Regions from separate parts of the Homo sapiens genome. Here all the other regions are linked to region 1. The links are contacts of gene promoters, found by promoter capture Hi-C in blood cells and fetal thymus (Javierre and others, 2016). All regions are on one chromosome and are shown on one strand. Each heading gives the region's core, a stretch centred on a gene start or on the middle of the fragment in contact. The rest is flanking DNA. Distances are from core to core; before and after follow the strand shown. Region 1 holds the start of TSHR (thyroid stimulating hormone receptor). Region 2 overlaps NRXN3 (neurexin 3). Region 3 overlaps NRXN3 (neurexin 3). Region 4 overlaps NRXN3 (neurexin 3).

Region 1 (2,775 bases), core at 174-2,673:
AGGCAAAGGTTGCAGTGAGCCGAGATCGCGCCATTGCACTCCAGCCTGGGCGACGGAGCAAGACTCCGTTTCAAAAGAAAAAAAAAAAGAAAAGAAAATTTGTGCATGTTGTATCAGCAGTTCATTCATTTTTATTGCAGAATAGTATTCCAATGTGGAGGTATCAGAGTTTGTTTATCCATTATCTAGTCGCGAGACACTTGGTTCGTTTAGTGGTTATGAATAAAGCTTCTGTAAAATTTGGAATACACATATTTTAAATGTACGGTTTAATGAATTTTGATAAATGTATACATCCACTTAACCTCCAGCCTAATTACGATATGGAAACCCTGTGTGTTCCCTCCTGTCTTTTTCTAGTCAATCTTTCCTAACCTTTATTCTGATTCCCATAACCACAACTTTTTCCTTCCTGTCCTAGCCAAGTTCATATAAAAGGAATTATGCAGTATAGAAGGAATTGACATTCCTTTTATCCCAAGAGGAATAAGTGATTGAAGACTTTTAAGAAGGAAATAGGCACAATCTGATTTATGTTTGTAATGATCTTTTTGGCTACTGTGCGAAGAATGGTGAGTATGCCACTTAAGTATTATTTTTCTTCCCATCTTCCAGGGGGAATATGACTCAATGAAATTCTTGGGTCGACCAGAATTTCCATACTGGACCCATTATTAAGGGAACCTGGAATTATTTCTGCCATTCCCGATTCTTCCCAGCAGATGGCCCCAAAGTTCAGTTCCTGAATTGCCTCGCGGAGCCGCGGGCTGCAACGTGAGGCGGCCGCTGCCAGTCGACTCAACCACCGGAGTGGCCCCTGCAGTTGGATAGCAACGAGAATCCTCCAGGGGTGCAGGGCGACGGCTTCGGCCGCACCGCGGGCTAGCCAGGGCTGCGTGCCCGCCTCTGACCCTCAGCAGAGGTGTCTCTGGCCAGGAGGAGCTGAAGTTCTGCAGGACATTGGTCCGCCCGCGGACAGTCCACTCCGCGGGGACTTTCTCTGGATAAGGAGTGCGTGCGAGTGGCTCCCAGGCAGACAGGGTGTCTAGAAGGCTACACGCTAGGGAAGGTGGCTCCTTGGATTTAAAGAGGAGGAAAGGAGGGGGCATCTAAACTAGGCTTTGGAGAGAACTAATGGGAGGGGCGCCCGGGGTGGGGGGGCGGGCTGGAAAACAGAGGGGACAGCCAGGACTGGTGTTGGGTGTCAGGGAACAGACGGAGCGGACTGCGTGGGTCCAGCCAAGGAAAGTGAAGCAAGCAGACTTGTTTGGGTCAAGGTTGCCTAGGGAAGCGGAGCACTTAAGTGCCTCTTTTTCCCCTTCTCCAGCCTCCTCCACAGTGGTGAGGTCACAGCCCCTTGGAGCCCTCCCTCTTCCCACCCCTCCCGCTCCCGGGTCTCCTTTGGCCTGGGGTAACCCGAGGTGCAGAGCTGAGAATGAGGCGATTTCGGAGGATGGAGAAATAGCCCCGAGTCCCGTGGAAAATGAGGCCGGCGGACTTGCTGCAGCTGGTGCTGCTGCTCGACCTGCCCAGGGACCTGGGCGGAATGGGGTGTTCGTCTCCACCCTGCGAGTGCCATCAGGAGGAGGACTTCAGAGTCACCTGCAAGGATATTCAACGCATCCCCAGCTTACCGCCCAGTACGCAGACTCTGTGAGTACCCGGGAGAGATCAGGGTAGGACCCAGAGATCAAGGGCATCTGCAGAGGTGGCCCGAAGTGCACAAAAGCAGCTCAATAACAGCCCGAAGTAGTGTGTGAGTGTGTGTATGTGTGAGTGAATGTCTGTGTGTGTAGATGTGTGTGTGTGCTAAAAACTTAATCGCCCACACTTGGGAAGGTATCATTGTTGACATCCTCATTCCCAACACAGGAAAATGTTACAAAACTTTGGTGTACAATGACCGTGAGAGCTGTTCTTTCCAACAAGCTGCTATTCAGCACTTTGCCTAACCCTGGTTGAATCTGTTTTATTTGAATTAATAAGGATAATGGCATCTCAGGAACTGACCTTTTTGATCTTACCTTGGGTAATAAAAAATTGCAAAAATATGTATTTCTCCTTTTTGTTTCTCTAGATGGGAGGTTATCTTAGCAGTTCTGCTGATTCATCAAATTGTTGACAAAGGTTTAAGCAGGGGCCCTTTTTAAAATGAACTGTCTATACAGTATCTGTAAGTTACTTACTCAAATGTGAACTGCCAGTGAAATAGTACGTCCAGAACCCTGCTTTGTGATAGAGGTATAAAGAAATGAAATTTCATAAAAGTATAGTACATTTATCTGCATGTTAAATGTTACCAGATTAGAAACCTGATGTTAAATAAGATTATACACACACAACCTGTTTCTTAACAGCAATTTAAATCAGTGATCATTGAAATTGTAGACAAAACCAAGGGAATAAAGTCTGTCTTGATTAGTTAAAAAGAGAACAGAAAGAAAGGACAGTAAAACAACCTAGGCTGGTTAAATCCAGTTAAGATAAAAAAAAATGCAGGTTATTAAAGAAAATGTTGATAGATGAAAAGAAATGGGAAAGTTGCACCTCTAGATTTTCTCAAGAATTTAGCTCATGAAGACTATTTAACAGTAGATGAATATTTGAGCACAGAGATATATTTCTGTGCTCAGAGATATCCTAGTGTCTTAGCACACCTGAATTAATTAGTTCAATAACCTCCAAACAGTGTGGTAGTCATTCTCCATGCTGCCACCACAGAATAAGATGTGTAAAAGGTGTAATGGCCTCTTGATTACACCTCTACATAGGTTG
Region 2 (2,775 bases), core at 153-2,652, 2.0 Mb before region 1:
AAGCATACACAGCTTCTCTTTGCAGATCATCCTTAATATTTCTGATTATGTCACTTCTTCAGGAAAGTTGTTAAAGAGGAAATAAAGAGATGCTATCAGTCTTGCTAATGGAGTTTTTTCAATGTAGAAGGTAACAAGAGAGGACAGGAAGAAAGAATTCCCCCTCTAATGCTTGGCAGTAGAACATGGTTTGTTATGTTTTAACATGATTTTTCTATATAAATGTTGAGGAAGCCAATTTCTACTCTGGCCACATTAATGATGTTTTTCTTTATTTTGTTATTAAAATTTCCAGTCTCTTTGTATTTTTTTTTCAAGCCCTCCTTATCCCCTCTGCCCTAGTCACTCACCACTTCTAGGTAAAATAGGTAATACAAGTTCTAAATAGTTCATTTGTAACAGCTGAAGATATTTCCGTTGTGAATGTCAGAAACCCAACTCAAACGCTTTAAGCATGAAAGGGAGTCTATTGCCACACAGTTTGAAAAAGCCGGGAGGTGCCTGGCTTGATCCAGAGTCTCAAAGGACAGCACAGATGATTCTCTTCATTTGGTAATTGTCTTCTGGGTTGCTAGTCCTCTGATCCCTCTGATTTTCTTATAGCCTCTAGGGACTCAAAGCTTTCTTCTTACCCCTCCAGCAGTCCTTGCTTGCAAAGAATCCTCTTTCCTAAGTGTACCAGCAAGAGCTCTGGAACTGAGTGTGGCCGGGATGGCTTGGGTTGTTGCCAGTTCTAAGGGTGGTCCCTAAATCAGCCACAAGAGCATCACTGTGAAACTTGTTAGAAATGCAGATTCTCAGGCCTCACCCCAGACTTTTGAATTCTAAACTCTGAGGGCCTAAGCCCCCCAGGTGATTCTGATACACCCTAAAGTGTAATGACCGCTTTTTAAGTCTGTAGTCCAAAGTCTGTGACAGTTAGGGGGGTAAAGTACATTGAGTGGTCTAGGCTGAGTAGCTTGATTAGGGTCAACTTTATCCAGTCCAGGTGGTTGAAAGGTCAAGAGGGGTGGGTAGCTTCCTAAAGAAAAATTACGTGTTATTATAAGATAAAGTAACAGTTGCTGGGCAGGTAAACTCAACTGATAAGTCTATAATAGAATCCTTCCCACGAGTACTAAGTGGAGAGTTATTACGAGAAAAAATACTTGGTAGTGATGCCCAAGACTTGTGTGTTGTGTCTTTACAAGGGTCAGAGCAACAAAGGCCTTTCTTCTTATAGTGTGTATTAGTGTCCAGTGATTCTCCTGAATGGAGAATATCAATAGTTTTATCCTTTAGCCTGGGTTACTCATGACCTCATATTTCCCCTTATATGATGAGCCGTGCTGAGCAGCTGCGTGACAGCATGTAATTTGGGCAATGCCTGATTGAGGCCAAGTAAGGTATCTACCATATTGAATATTTGGTTTTCTTGAACTCACCCAAGAAAGCTGAATATTCTGTGTGGAAACAGGTTACACCCAAAAAATATACTTGAGGGTGCTGTGATAAATGATGGTAACTTTTCTGTTTGTACCTCATTTACAATTTTCACAGGTACAATGGTGGGAGACCATACCCGTTTGGAGTTCCACAACATTGAAACGGGAATCATGACTGAGAAACGCTACATCTCCGTTGTCCCCTCCAGCTTTATTGGCCATCTGCAGAGCCTCATGTTTAATGGCCTTCTCTACATTGACTTGTGCAAAAATGGTGACATTGATTATTGTGAGCTGAAGGCTCGTTTTGGACTGAGGAACATCATCGCTGACCCTGTCACCTTTAAGACCAAGAGCAGCTACCTGAGCCTTGCCACTCTTCAGGCTTACACCTCCATGCACCTCTTCTTCCAGTTCAAGACCACCTCACCAGATGGCTTCATTCTCTTCAATAGTGGTGATGGCAATGACTTCATTGCAGTCGAGCTTGTCAAGGGGTAAGTAGAAGGGATCACGACTTATGTTGGACACCTTTAATCTACTGAAGCTCTACGTAAAATATGGACATAAAAATAACTTGTCTATTCTACTCCCTACCCTCCATTCCTGACACATTCTCGCATCTTCCTTGATTAAATGGATCCATAAAATTATTAGGTCTGGAAAGGAGAGAGGCTCATGATTTAATTTAAAGGTCTTCCACTAACTCAACACTAACAGACTTTTTCCTATGAAATGTAGCCCTTTAAAACTATTGAAGAAAAGCTTATTTTTGCAAAAGAGGGCTATGATTTGTATTGCATCTAATTCTTGAGTATTACTAACTACAACCACCCAATTTATACCAAAAGATGAAACATAAATATTTTAAATCCTACCATTAGCCCATATATGCAAGTTTTTAGAAGCTGCCCTTTCCTCAAGACATTTTACTACCATGTATTAGAAAATAGTCAAAACAAAAAACCAAAACAAAAACCAAAACAGATTAATGGTTGATGATGAATTTAAAAGTCACCCCCTTATGTTTTGTAGTGTACAACCTGTGCTACTTTGACTCTGGAGAGTATTAGTAGGTAGTGTTAATGAAGTGGACTCGATGAGTATGGAATTATAGTGAAGCATGATAGAATAAAATCTGACTATTCTTGTAACCTCATATCAAGATTTAAATTATTCCTGCATTATGCCAGTTTAGCATGGGGGATTTGAAGCCCACTATGTCAGTTACACACATATAGCCATTAAACCACTTCGGGGATTTTCCAATTATTGTTTTTTTTTTTTTTTCTTCCTAGGTATATACACTACGTTTTTGACCTCGGAAACGGTCCCAATGTGATCAAAGGCA
Region 3 (2,775 bases), core at 104-2,603, 1.9 Mb before region 1:
AAAGCATCAATAAATGGAACTAGTGAGTTATCTTCTCAGCATGTCTCCACAGGCTACACTTACAACAGTCTTTCCTCCTACAGAGCGGGGCAAGTCATAGGAAGTGACTAAAACCATGTCATTTGGGTGTTCATATTAAGCACACTGGCTATGAGATCGCCCCGGAATGTATACACAGCCCAACATGTCATTTTCTTAACACCTTAACATCAGTGTGGACAAAAACAATAAGGAACAATGTTTTAAACATGTTTACATCAAAGAGGACTGGGGTCATAAGGAAGCAGTTCGATGGGAGAATAAATAACATTATTCCAAATTCAATAAAACTGATCAGTCATTCTACAAATGTACACTGATTTGACTCATTCCATTACCATGCAAGAATTTTATTTGTTGACTGTTGTGAAGACATTCCTGTCATCAAGAAGGAATTTTCTAAAATTATAACCTGAGATAGTAGTAAGTGATAGAAAAATTCACTAAATGGCTTTTCCATGAAATAATATTTATTTATACCTACTTCTGAATACCTACTATGTGCTGAGCAGGTGCAGGGTGATGTGAAACATATATTAAATCCCTTAAGGAGCCTACAGACAAAGATTAAGAGATGGCTGAAAGATAGTGTATCCAAGGTCACGTTGGCACAGATTACTGAAGTGAGTGGGGTGGCCTGGAAGAACATTAAGTGGACATTTAAGATGGAACAGCTAATAAGACAAAGGTAAAATGAGTCTAGAAGAATGACTAGACTGAGAAGAGAGGAAAGGAAAGAGGCAGAAATAGTAGAATGTAGAAAAGCTTTAGGCCCATGGTGATTATGGAGAATTGCAGAAGTCCAGTAATCTAGAGCATAATAATGCATATGTGGAAAGAGTGGGAAATTGGGGCCATAGGTAGAAGCCAGAATCAGGGACTTTGAGTACTAAATTGAGCATGATCTATTTTCTAGAAGGTATAGGAGAGACTTTGAAGAAGGCTGTCACTTGCTCCCCACGTAACCCTCTAAGAAGGCATGCCATTCACTTCCACTTTCCAGAAGACACAGGTGTGTTTCCCCAGAAGACCATCTGGATCCAGAATCTGTGCAGACTGACCATCTATCATGGTCTTTCCTTGTGGGAATTTTAAGTCTTGACTTTCCTTCTGGAGCTTTCCATGCGACCGAGGAAGTGATTATACAATAGCAGATGAGATCCTTGGTATAATTAAGGATTGCTTGTCACTTTCAACATTTCCCCCCATCAAACCGTGGACAGAGAGGCCTTGGAAGGGTTTAGTTCTGCTACCATACTCATTTAACCCTGCTAAGCATATTTTCTTCAGCATTTTGCAAGCAGAAATTTATAGTAATGTTTTTTGACACTAACTCTGAGTCCTGCATTCTCTGCCTGACTTGCTGTATTTGAAGGTGGTAGCGAAACACATGGTGTATGTGTATGTATGAAGTAGGAGGCATGGTGGTACAGATTTAGCTATGGGACTTTTCAGCTTTGCCTGTATGAAATTCATTTACTAAGTATATGTAAGTGAAATTCCAGCAATTCAGAAAGGGTTCTGGAATTGCTTAAAGCCCATCACTGCTTGTGAATTCTTCCCACATTAAAATGTTATCTTACAGAAGGTCAAAATGTCTTTCCTGCATGAATATAATAATGACTTACACCTTAGACTGTAACCATTGTGAATTTATTCTATGTGTATCTATCTCTGGTTTTCTTTGTTGGAGTGGCAAGATTTAAAGCAGGCCAATTTTATGCCTCATTCTATGTGCACCAAAACTACTTACATGATATTGGTTTTCAGTGCCTGCTACAACAAAAACAATATCCCAGTAACAGCCCACTTTACTTTCTGTGGGTAGACAATGCCCTCACAGGGGTTATTAACTTCTCCCAGAGAAGCTTTTGTCTTTGCAATCCTGAATGCATTTCTCTTCATATTAGATTTTACCAGTCACCTTGTTGATTATGAAATGCTAAGTCAGGGTCTTTATTAGACTGACTTTGCTTTCCCTTTAATAATTCAGGTAATTATTATATTTACAGAATTTGCCTATTTTTTGAAATCAACACTTTGTTAATCACCAGACCCATGACAATCTATAAGTAGCCACTTTACGTGGCTTATAGATCTAAAGTGAATGTTGGTTTTCACACATTCATTCATAACTATTATTTTTACTGATATATTAGGCAAAATATAAGATTCATTTATGAGTTTGTTCATCAGCTAGTTATAAAATTCCTGTTGCATGGTAAGTGCTGTCTGTATTGGGCAACAGAGATAAAATGGGAAACAAAACAAAAATCTTCCCTACTGTCATGGGGTTTACAACACCTGGACTTCTCAAAGGACACTGAATCAAAGGTTCTTCTCTAAGACTTTGTATGAAGTCTTAGTCAGAATCAAAGATGGTTGGCACCATCATTCACTAAAGTGGCCTGAGAAGTAAAAAACCTCTGTATGGCAAGGAGCAGTGGGACCTCTCTTTTTTTAAACTTTTATTTTAGGTTCAGGGGTACATGTGCAGGTTTCTTACTTAGGTAAATTGCGTGTCACAGGGATTTGGCATACAGATTATTTTGTTAGCCAGATAATAAACATAGTACCCAATAGCTTTTCAATCCTCACCCTCCTCCCAACCTCCACCCTCAAGAAAGCCATAGTTCCTGTCATTCCCTTCTTTGTATCTCTATGTACTCAATGCTTAGCTCCCATTTTTTAAGTGAGAACATGCAGTATTGGGTTTTCTTTTCTTGTGTTAGTTCA
Region 4 (2,775 bases), core at 108-2,607, 1.9 Mb before region 1:
AGCTCTTTTACACTTTTATAAGGCCCTTTCCTCTTATAAATGTAAACCTATTTTTTAAATGGAAGCTAATTTGTTAAGTCCATTCTATCAGAGGTAAATTGAAAAATGCCAGCAGGCAAGATAAATTTGACAGAAAATAGGTAAAATCAAAGTTTTATTCATGTACAGTGGTTAAGAATGAAGATATTAAGATAAATTATTTTAAGTGAGGACTGTCCTTTTAATAGGCCTCACTCTATAGCCTTGTCTCATTTTTCATTTTCACAAGGTTCTTGATGTATTCTTTTCATTATATAAAACGTGCCATATTTGGTCTTTTCATGAAATGTATCTGATATTCTCCTTTGACAGCCATTCACGTGAAAAGAAAAGGTCCTATTTCTGTCCATCACCTACATGCACATATTCATAGAAATCATAGATTTTTGGTAAAATATGCTATATACTTATACAGCATCTTAATCTCAGAAACCCAAAGGGTTTAGATCCATAACTGTACCATATTTCCTTTCTGTATGTTGAGAGATACACATGGTCAAATTTCCTAAAACCTGAATCTAACTCAATCTAAATTATATGATTTCCGTTTCTACACAGTGGAACAAGTGTGTGTGAAATAAAATCACCAGCCCAGAGGCATTCACCCAAATAAATCTTGGAGATTTTCTGCAACATTTCATCCCTCTACTTCTATATCTAAGTATTGCTACTTCTAGTTGGATGTAAAATGCATCCTTCTCAATTTATTTTTGTTTGTGGGGGATGGATGGAACTAACTGTTCCCCCACTACTTTATAAACAAATATAAAATGTGGATGTGTAGGTATTTTAAATGCTAACAGTAGAATTTTAGTATCTAGTTAATAACCCTATTGGTTGGAATTTAAATCTTTTCAGGAGGAAAAATTAATCATCCATTATATCATTCATCTTGATGCTGTCACTTTCTTCTTGAAATCAGAAAAACATCGTAGTTTTTACATGGTAGTTTTTCCTTGTTGGAGGACAGTTGCATTTTACTCCACACTGTTAAATGCATTAGGCCATGTAAGAGAAATATAATTCTGTAATTATTCAGAACTCAGTTGGTTGTTTATATGGTATTCAGCAAGATACTTCCCCCCCACCTCCAACTTCTTATAACACAATTTCAAAGCACCAATCGTCTTCCTCTTTTAAAGTAACACCATGACTGATTGCCTTAAATTTATATATGATCTTGTTCTAATGTCCTTTCTAAAAATAAGAAAAAAATATTCCACAAGTAAAACGAGAGTATGATAGATACTTCACCATGGTGCTGGTGTATGTAGACTTGCGTGAGGGGGAGGACATGGAATGGTATGTTCTCCATTCATCTCTAGTTTTATTTCCTAGATGAGTTATGGGTGAATACTGTGACAAAAACAAAACAACAACTAAAATGGAAAAGTCCCAGGAGTGAACAGAAACCAGGACTTAAACTGCTTCATCATTATTTTATTGTATTGTTTTCGTTTTGGGTTTTTTTTTTTTTTTTTTTTTTTTTTTTTTTTTAAGGAAGTTACAACAAGGAGCAGCTAAGGACAGATAAATTGGTAGCAGATTGTGGTTTATGATAACGACAGTCCCGAAGGAACTTGGCTTTCTTGGTGACGTTGAAGTAAATTGCATTACTCAAGATGTATACTAAGAAGGATAGATAATGAGGTGTATGGGGGAAAGGCATGATGACTATTTTTATAGTATTGTTGACTACCAAAATGAATGGAAGGGAAGGCGGGACCAGGTGGAGTTCCTTGGGTTAATTTCGATGTACCTTATAAATGACAAAATTTCCACCCACTTCTCTTAGAGGGATAAAAATATTTGAAAGTGTCTGAAACAATTGCCGACCACTATTTCAATTCCTTTTCCTAACTTCTAGTACCTTTGATTTACTCTGAATTCCTAATTTCTTGTTAAATGGGACCATATTTGTTTATAATTCACCTGGGTTAAAAATAATGTTTTCTTCTGAGAAGAGGAAAGAGGAAGGGAGTGCTCTAGCTTCTTCATCCAGAAACAGACTCTTATGTAAAACCCCCAGGAGATTCTATAAGATATCAGGGAAGATTCACCTAAAGATTAGGACCCTTTGAGCCTGACAAATCTCCTGTTGAATGCCTTGCTTTCAACCAAAGCTGAGATAAAAAGTGCGCGCATGTGCACACATGCTCAAATACACAGGCAGAAAGCTCTCAGCTACAAGACCTGCTTCCGTAGTTTACAGAGCACCTGTAGCCCATTTCCCCTGTGTTTTTTAGGCAAATCTTTGTTATCATGGTGTATGACAGCCACATATAATCTGAGTACCACTTCCTCCCTTCTTAATTTTCCACCATTTATGCCAATTAGAAGCAAAATAAAAGGGATGATTTCTGGTCACTTAAAATCGGGGTGAAGCAAGGATGGAGGTTGTCCTGCAAAGGCATTTTAATTCTAAAGAAAAAGGAGATTAGTGGCCTCTACCCATCTTAGAGAATAGAGTGTCCTGACACCTTCCCTTCCTCCTTGCTCAGTATTCTCCCTCTCCCTAGTGCCACATTGAGAGGAGATTCACTCCTAAAAGAGTGTGTCATTTTAAGTTGACTTTCTTGGAGCTGAGCTAAGAGCCATTGCCAAGGCCAGTGGGCGTAAATTCAGTCCGCCTGACGGGAGATGAAGGGTTGTGGGATTTATGACTTATTTGAGTTCTCATATATCACCCTCTGTGTCGCTCGCTTATGATGGCCCTGCCAAAAGATAAAGAAGTGT

The links. The method cuts DNA at HindIII sites, captures the fragments that hold promoters and counts their contacts. A CHiCAGO score of 5 or more calls a contact.
Region 2: a fragment that was not itself captured here is called in contact with the fragment with the promoter of TSHR in region 1 in 7 of 17 cell types (naive B cells, M0 macrophages, M1 macrophages and 4 more); the score reaches 11.3 in naive B cells.
Region 3: a contact is called between a fragment that was not itself captured here and the fragment with the promoter of TSHR in region 1, in 1 of 17 cell types (M1 macrophages). The highest score is 6.9, in M1 macrophages.
Region 4: a fragment that was not itself captured here is called in contact with the fragment with the promoter of TSHR in region 1 in 1 of 17 cell types (M2 macrophages); the score reaches 7.3 in M2 macrophages.

Annotation. Positions count from the first base shown.
Region 1 is chr14:80,954,198-80,956,972 of GRCh38, forward strand. TSHR (thyroid stimulating hormone receptor) reads left to right here and starts at 1,424. Exons shown (of 10, transcript NM_000369.5): 1 at 1,424-1,653. The coding sequence starts at 1,484. It also overlaps a transcript of CEP128 not described here. The HindIII fragment of the contact is 2,816 bases long and covers 227-2,775 here.
Region 2 is chr14:78,964,486-78,967,260 of GRCh38, forward strand. NRXN3 (neurexin 3) reads left to right here. Exons shown (of 21, transcript NM_001330195.2): 12 at 1,540-1,921; 13 at 2,723-2,775. Among named protein-coding and RNA genes, the nearest start is that of NRXN3-AS1, 110 kb to the right of the region's middle. The HindIII fragment of the contact is 1,569 bases long and covers 619-2,187 here.
Region 3 is chr14:79,011,612-79,014,386 of GRCh38, forward strand. The region is part of intron 15 of NRXN3 (neurexin 3); the gene reads left to right. Among named protein-coding and RNA genes, the nearest start is that of NRXN3-AS1, 63 kb to the right of the region's middle. The HindIII fragment of the contact is 1,103 bases long and covers 803-1,905 here.
Region 4 is chr14:79,035,091-79,037,865 of GRCh38, forward strand. All of the region lies in intron 15 of NRXN3 (neurexin 3), which reads left to right. Among named protein-coding and RNA genes, the nearest start is that of NRXN3-AS1, 39 kb to the right of the region's middle. The HindIII fragment of the contact is 8,428 bases long and covers 1-2,775 here.